Regions from separate parts of the Homo sapiens genome. Here all the other regions are linked to region 2. Evidence: promoter capture Hi-C in 16 types of primary human blood cells and fetal thymus (Javierre and others, 2016). All regions are on one chromosome and are shown on one strand. Each heading gives the region's core, a stretch centred on a gene start or on the middle of the fragment in contact. The rest is flanking DNA. Distances are from core to core; before and after follow the strand shown.

Region 1 (2,700 bases), core at 52-2,551, 590 kb before region 2:
GAACAGAATTTGCAAAGGATATTAGAGGTCATTGCCAGGCTTCACCTTCCAGCATTGCCTGTTACAGGGTGTATGGTAAATTGCTTAATCTCTTTTAATCTTCACGTGAGAAATAATATCCAATTCATAAATCTGAGAATACCAATTTAGATAACACATACAAAGTGTTCTTCTACAAAGTGTTCTACACAGTGGGTACTCATAGACATCTGTCCTTTCTTTCTTCTCTTGTTAAATATTCAACACTAAACGGAACCCCTTATCAGATATCTCCAATCTCTACTAAAATATTTCTAGTGATGAGAAACTCATTGTCTCATGAAGCACTTCACCTTCCTTTGAAGTGCTCTAATTATTAAAAAGCTTATCTTTCTATTTAACTGAAATCTGCCACACAGAATATAGCTTTGCTGATGGAGAATCTTTTGGGTATTTGACAAGATTACTCTGTGTTTCTAAGTCTTTTATTTTCCAGGTTATGGATCACCAGTTCATTCAACTGTTCCTTAGATGACGTGGTTTTCAATTCCATTATCATGTAGGTTGCCTTAACTTGGATCACTTCTAAATCTGTAGGATTAATCTGACCTCTCTTTTTCTGTTTCTAGTATTAGCTTAGGGAATATTTTTTAAGGAATGCCTGCTAACTGTGTTTTATCCCATTGCACTTGATCACCAGCATAATGCTACTTCCAAAGATATAACACAGAATTTATTGTTTTCATATGTAAATTTATAGAAACTATTTAAATTTAATAATTAATTATTAGTAACCTATAACCCCCCCCCCCCCCTCACCACTCCTTGGTTTCAGGGTTTGGTTTCAGGGTGGCTCAGGTGTCTTGAACACATTTGTAATGGAAACTTGATAAACTCCTATTTTGGGTTCACCCTCTTTTCTTGGGTGTGGGGCCAAAGTTTGTCACTTAGATTAACTAGTTGGCTTGCAAGCTATAATTATCTTCCTCCTCCAATTAAAATCACATTTCTGTATTGCCACATCTAGTTATTGCAAAATCTAGCAATACACCTTGGATTCTTATTTCCCTCTAAGCAGACTTTCCCTGACGATTCATATTTTTTCTTCTGGGTTGTTCAACTCTTAGGTATTGCTCTTGTCCCACTGCTGAGTAGGACATTGTTTCCAACAAAGATTGATCATTGGGTAATTTACAATATTGTTGGTTTTGTTTTTCTGTGTCTCATTTGCTGTATTAGAATGATTAACACACATTATTATATTATTATTTCTAGATTTGATTAATAGAATTTTGGGTGACTCATATACTCCAGCTATACCTATGTGACAGCATAATTGGATCCAAAATGAAAAATTCAATCAACATAGGGTTTTATTTTTAATTGTGCCAAATGAAAGGCTTAATTAATAATTTTCATTGGATTTTAGCTAATCCGTTTACCGGAATTTTTCAATCATGTGTTATGAATGTATAAACCTAATGTGATATTTCTAAACATCATTTCAACCTACATGTATTTGGCATGCCCACATTTTCTGCCAGATGCTGCATTAAGTACTGGGGACTTATTTCTGGATGGCCAATAATACCTGGCCCAGCCTTTGAGGAGGAATAAGATACAAAAATTCGTCTTCTAAAAAGGAAGTGCAGACTACCTGGGTCAAGGAACTTATGGTTCTCAGCTGGTGTGATGATTACTTAGTTTTATGGGAAAACACTCCAGAGGACACGCTCTTTGGTCCTATTCTTGCCAATCCACTCCCATTTAATACCATATGTTGAAATTTTATGTACTCCTCAAGGCTCTGCTCAGATGCCTTTCTGCTGTAAAGAGTGGTCCTCATATCCCAGCCCTTTATATTACCTCCCTTTTCCAAACTTCTGTGGCAGGTCACTTTATACCTGGCGAGGCAAGGTTATTTGCATACCTGACTAGTCCGCTCCCATTTGCTTCCATAGTGACCAGTAAATATTAGTTTGATTGAGAGAAAAGTGTATTTTACTTATTTTTAATTTTTATTCCTAACTGCTAGACCACCAAAGAGAGAGAGCACAATGTTTTTTAGATAGAACACCTCGTTATTAAGGGAGAACAAGTTCTATTTTGATCTAGATTGGCAGGAGTATTACATTTTCAGACTGAATATTTTCATGGAAAGCCAGTGTTCCATCAGCCATTTTAAGATAACTCAGTTTTGTATCTATGGTTAGGCGATTGCCTACATACAAAGCACACTTTAATGACGAATTAGAGGATTCCAAGCTTGCCTTTATAAGTGAATATCTACAGATTTTTTTTTCTTATAAATACTACATGGAAACCAAGTTACTCTATGTTTTGAAAGCAACTTCTAGTACTCTTTAGATGTATGGGAAAAAGTCCTCAGGTTAATTTCCTTAAGAAAAAGCGTCATGAATTAAAAGACTGCTTGTTGAAACTGAAGATCACTTTCTACTGAGTCACCAGATATTGAGCAATATGATTTATATCAATATGCCTTGTGAAATTGTCAAGTTAAAGATTGTACATATTAGATAAGAAAATTTTGTGTCCCTATAGAGTGACAAGTATCTTGAGGGTTTTCTGGAAATATTGAATTCAACAAATATCTCAGTAAAATGCAAACAACTTCTTGATGGATTTTTTAGTCTCAAACAGCCAGCCTAATTCCTTTATTAAGATTTAAGGAGAAGGAAGTAAGTGGAATTCAATTTCATA
Region 2 (2,700 bases), core at 4-2,503:
TTATCCCTTGCTTTCAGCTGTCTTCCCCTCTCTCATTTTTGCCTAGGTACCTTATACCTGGTACCTTAGGGCTCCCTAATTAAATCTGGACAAAGACTCATCTGTAAGTGACTCCTCTGACTTATATATGAAACCCAATGGCTGTCTTGCTCAGTTCATCCTTCAAATCACCTCATTTTGCTCCTGGTTAATGAACTCAGGCTGCCTTATCCTCCATTTTAGGGAAATAAATGAAGGAAGACAAACATATATGCTTGGATTAATGAGGAGTTTTCCCTTCCATCTTCCATCAGCTTCGATTGTAATGAAAATTTTACTGTAGAGAATCTAGCAAGGAAGAAATGACAATGATTCCCTCACTCAACAAGTATTTGGGCATTGGGATGGAGGGTGGGGAAGGAGTCACCCTGGCCCTCCTCCGCCTGACTTACTTGATCCTAAAGTCATCGGCAGCCAGCTTGGCATTGTCAATTTGTACAATCAGCCTGGCATTCTCGGCCTTGCTGCACAGGATCTGAGGAGAACAGGAAGACAGTTCACACACAAAGCATCATGCCCTAGGCTCCTTCTCCACGTGTGGTGTCTATGATCATGTCCAAGAGAAACCAAGAACCCAAAGTTCTCTGAGCTTTACATGGATTCCTCCTGTCTTGCCTCTGCCATCTCAGACCCAGCACACCCAAGCGATCCCACACCTCACCTTCTGTTGGAGCTCCTCGATGGTGTGGAAGTAAGACTGGTAGTCGGGGCACACGGTGGACTCGTGGCACTTGCTCCTCTCGAGGAGTGTGGCCTCCAGCTCCGCATTCTCCTGCTCCAGCTGGCGCACCTTCTCCAGGTAGTTGGCCAGGCGGTCATTCAGGAACTGCATGGTCTCCTTCTCATGGCCATTCAGGGTGTTTTCACCATAGGCCCCACAGATTCCAATGTTGCCAGGAATGTGGCAGGTCCCTGGCAAGGGACAAGCAGTGTGGCAGGTAGGCGGCAGACAGAGGCTGGGGCGGCCCAGGGGAGTGGACCCCACACGGACTCGGTTGGCATGTGCCACGTTGGCCAAAAGGCACATGGGGGCAATGTTGGCCTCTGCCCCAGGCTGGCACCCAATGTCGATGGGAGAGACAGAGACATTTCTTGCTCCAGGAGCCATGGTGCAACCCAGAGGGCATGAGGAGCTGCTGTAGGAAGAGGTCATGGTGTTGGGCTGAGGCTGCACAGGAGCTTCAGATCAGCTGGGAAAGCTGAACCACTGAGACTGAAGCCTCCTCTCCTCCCAGCCCTTTTATACCCCATCCTGGGCGGGTGTTGGCTCCAATGCTTTGACCTCCTGCCTTGATTATCTACCTGTTGTGGTGCCATCATCCTGTTACTCAGCTGCTGAGTTTACCATGAAAAGTTTCTCAGCTCGTTAAAGGAATGTTGACGAATCTGAGGCCTCTTGGCTCTTTGAAATCAGGTTGGCTGTTGATGGGAGGTCAGAAGCTTTTTATTATCTTTCAAAGAAGCAAAGTTATAGCCATCAGATGCTTAGACCTTGACTGGGTTTGGCCTCTTTATGGATGTGTCCACTCTGGAGACACAAACTTTCCTGTTGGTCAGTGGTGTAGCAGGAGGACTAACCCCGGTGATGACAATGGTTCTCACTTGGGTTAAGACTCAACCAGCCTTCCCTATCCAGGGAAGAAACTGAGTCTTGGAATTGGTGGATGTTATGGCCTTGGGTTATCAAGAAGTCCTACATTTCTTCTTTCTTTAGTTGGTTGCCTTTCAGACTCACTTTGAGGAGCAACAAGACTTAGATGAATCCAGTCACTCAAAACACATCCCCTGGCTACGTCCCATATGCTACGCACCTTGCTGATGCTTGATATATAGTTGGTTAAGCACAAAATAGTTCCTGCCATTGGGGAACAACTGTAACTTGGGTAGACGTGATGTTTCAAACAAGGTATCTGAGAAGCTCATGAAAATGAGGATGACTCCAAAAACCATGGCTTATCTCGACCAAGAAGGGCAAGCTCAAGAAGCCAGAAATAAACAAAGAGAAATGAGCAATAATCTTACTGAACCTCAAATAAGAACTTGGTCATGAAAGTCAAAGGACATTGAGTGATCAGAGCCTCTGTGGGCTCTCTTCATACCTTGCTTCCTTTATTCTAAAGTCAGTCATGAGCCTTCACCCTATGAGCTAGGGGATTGAGCAATGATACCTTTTAATCTTTACTTCCAACCTGGGAGGTGGGTACTCTTAATTTTACAAAATAAATAAACAAGCCATTGAGGACAGTTTTCTAAGATCAACCTCACTATAAAGTATAAAGCCTATTCTCAACATCAGCTTCTTTCAACTCCAGAAACTGTTTCTTCACCTTGACCACCTCCAAATCCTCCACCCCAAGGATAACTACTGTGTCATTGCTAGAACTAAGAAGGATTCAAATTCCTAGAAACCGGGCAAGAAGTTGAAATTAAGATGTAAAACAAAAATCTGACATTGTGTATTTTTCCCTTTGTATCTCAGAAAATACAGATGTGGAGGTATTCATACAATAAAACAGAGTTTCTCCAAGGGCTAAATCAGAAGATGCCAGGGGAAAGTCCTGTCCCTAAAATGGTTATATTACACATTCCACATTCAGATAGTTCTTGGTACTAGGGATCCAAGACACATGGCTGCTGAGATCCCAAAACTTTTCTCCCAAA
Region 3 (2,700 bases), core at 57-2,556, 700 kb before region 2:
TCATCTTAATACACAAGCTCCATGAAAGCAGGGGCCAGTTTGTCTGGATTCCCCTAGATTCACACTCCCATAGGATTGAAGTGGGCACTGTATTGATATCTGTTGACCAAACTAATGGATAACAGACATCAGTCATCCTTTGCTCAAACTGATGTATCCACATTTTTCTACAAAGATTAAAGGAGAAATGGAACCGAGTTGGAATTATTTCACACAAAAACTATGAATACACAGTTTTTAGTTAATATTTGTAAGCATTCTCCAAGGGGCAGAGTGATAGGTGTTTTAAAAGAACAAATCAGAAATGTTTGCAGAATAAAGGTGGTGACTATGAAATATCAATTTCAATGCTATCTTCCACCTTCTCTTAGATTATCCCTAACTGAATATACATCCACCATTTGGGCAGTTTTATTACCTGTGCAGGTCTATGCGGATATAACTTTAAGCTTAAGTAAGGACAGATGCAATATTATAAGATTTGGTTTCCCTATGAAGTAAGACTTTATCTAGTAAGACATTAATGTAAATACCTGAAAATCTCATAATTGCTATGAACCAAGAATTAGCAATGACAGAAGCCACAGTGGCAGATGGAAGAGAAACAGCTTTGCTAGGGAGCCATGAAGACACACTGGCTACACTGTGTTAGTGGAAGCTCTGGAAACATCTCCAGAAAGTTGTTTTCTTTCTGCAACATAGTAATTATTCTATTTCAAAAATCACTTTCCAAATGAAGTAGTTCTATTACTGAATAAGAGTCTTATTTTTGAGAACATTCTTGATTATTGTTATTAAATGGATGGGAACAGTGGCACAGAACCCAAGGGGCATAAAACCAACAAAGTGTTTTCTATTTGGCGGGGAATGTCTTTTATGCACACATTTGTTGGGGCTGCATTGTTTGCTCTGGGAACTCAAGACAAACAATGCAAACAAAGTCTCCTGACTTACCTTAACTCTCCTCCCTCCTGGGTTCCTCCGACCCTTTTTTTTTTGTTTTGAGACAGGGTCTTGCTCTACTGCCCAAGCTGGAGTGCAGTGGTGTGATCATATCTCACTGCAGCCTCCATCTCTGGGGCTCAAGTGGCCCTCCCACCCCACCCTCCCGAGTAGCTGGGACTACAGGCACTCCACACAATGCCCGGCTAATTTTTTTTTTTTTTTTAAAGTAGAGATGAGGTCTTGCTATGTGACCCAGGCTTGTCTAGAACTCCTTACTTCAAGCCATCCTCCTCCCTCAGCCTCTCAAAGTGCTGGGATTACAGGTGTAAGCCACCGCTTCCGTCCTAACCCTATTTTCTAATTCATGTCTATCTGCATCCTCATCCACTGCTCAATGTGTTCCTGACCTCGGGTCTTCATTGTCTGCAGAGTTCTTCTTTCTGATCGACTTTCAAGGTATCAGTGGTTACCTCTCTCCTATGCAATCCAAAACCTCCCCTCCTGCTCCAATTCTTTCTCTTAGAAAATTGATTGATTGTTCTCACCTTCGTGCTTGTGTTCTAAGCTAAACTCGCCACCTTTCCATTCCACTGAATCCCTTTTCAGTTTGCTGCATCTCTCAATAGCATCGTTATTTTCTAGTCATTAGTCACTTTCTTTACTTAAAATATTGGTATTATTTTTGTCATCTGCTTAAAAATTTTTCATTGTATAATTTCCTGCATACAAAAAATTTAGAAATTGTGTAGTTTAAATAATAAATAATAGTAAAACATACCTGTATCTTAGAGACCCTGCTGTTTCTCCCCAGTGATATCTCCCCTATTACTGCTCAGGTGTCATCACTATCCTGAGTTTTCTTTATTACTTGCTGTGAAATAATAAGAAATATATAGTTGGCCTTTGTCTCTATTTCCTGGCACACAGCTTCTAAAATCCTTGTAATTTCCTCAGTGATAGAAGCATCTTTTCTTGTCCTGACCCAGAGCTCCTAAATCCTTTGAAATTTCTTGTGTGATAGGAGCATCTTTGGTTCTAATGAGGTGACTCTTGGTGGGCCGCTAAGTAGCTTTAGGATGGGGGCTGGCTGCCAGAAAGACCAAACCTTGATGAGAAGCCTAGACATTTCAGCCCTAACCCTTCCCCACCCTCCAGAGAGGGGACAGAGGCTGGAGACTGAGTTAATAATCGATCATGCTTACATGATGAAACCTCAATAAAAGCTTCTAAATGAGGGGGTTCAGAGAGTTTCTGGATTGGTGAACACATCAAGGTGCTGGGAGGTGGCCCACCCGGACAGGGCATGGAAGCTCCGTGTTCCTCGCCCCTGACCTTGCCCCGGGCATCTCTTGTATTCAGCTGTTGCTGAGTTGTATCCTTTATAGTAAACCCACAATAATAAGTAAAGCACTTACCTGAGTTCTGTGAGTCATTCTAGAGAATTATTGAACTTTGCGGAGGGGGAGGTTGTGAGAACCCTGAATTTGTAGCCATGTCAGACAGAAGTGTGGGTAACCTGCGGGCCTGATACTTGTGGCTGGTATCTGATGTGAGGACAGTCTTGTGGGACTGAGCCTTTAGACACGTGGAGTCTGACACTAACTCCAGGGTGTTAGTGTTAGAATTGAATTGAATTGTAGGACACTGAGTTGGTGTCAGAAGGGAAGAAAACCTTTCACCTGCCTTTAAAAAAGGTTTTGCTATCTACATATGCACCTCTAAACAATATCTTGTTTAGTTTTTCTATTTGGAACT

What was found. The method cuts DNA at HindIII sites, captures the fragments that hold promoters and counts their contacts. A CHiCAGO score of 5 or more calls a contact.
Region 1: a contact is called between a fragment that was not itself captured here and the fragment with the promoter of KRT38 in region 2, in 2 of 17 cell types (erythroblasts and M0 macrophages). The highest score is 8.1, in erythroblasts.
Region 3: a fragment that was not itself captured here is called in contact with the fragment with the promoter of KRT38 in region 2 in 1 of 17 cell types (endothelial precursors); the score reaches 5.3 in endothelial precursors.

What each region holds. Positions count from the first base shown.
Region 1 is chr17:40,848,042-40,850,741 of GRCh38, forward strand. No RefSeq gene overlaps it. Among named protein-coding and RNA genes, the nearest start is that of KRT12, 18 kb to the right of the region's middle. The HindIII fragment of the contact is 1,881 bases long and covers 362-2,242 here.
Region 2 is chr17:41,439,730-41,442,429 of GRCh38, forward strand. KRT38 (keratin 38) reads right to left here and starts at 1,254. Exons shown (of 7, transcript NM_006771.4): 1 at 701-1,254; 2 at 432-514. The coding sequence starts at 1,192. RefSeq lists an enhancer at 910-1,410. The HindIII fragment of the contact is 7,679 bases long and covers 1-1,477 here.
Region 3 is chr17:40,738,876-40,741,575 of GRCh38, forward strand. No RefSeq gene overlaps it. Among named protein-coding and RNA genes, the nearest start is that of KRT25, 15 kb to the right of the region's middle. The HindIII fragment of the contact is 1,719 bases long and covers 448-2,166 here.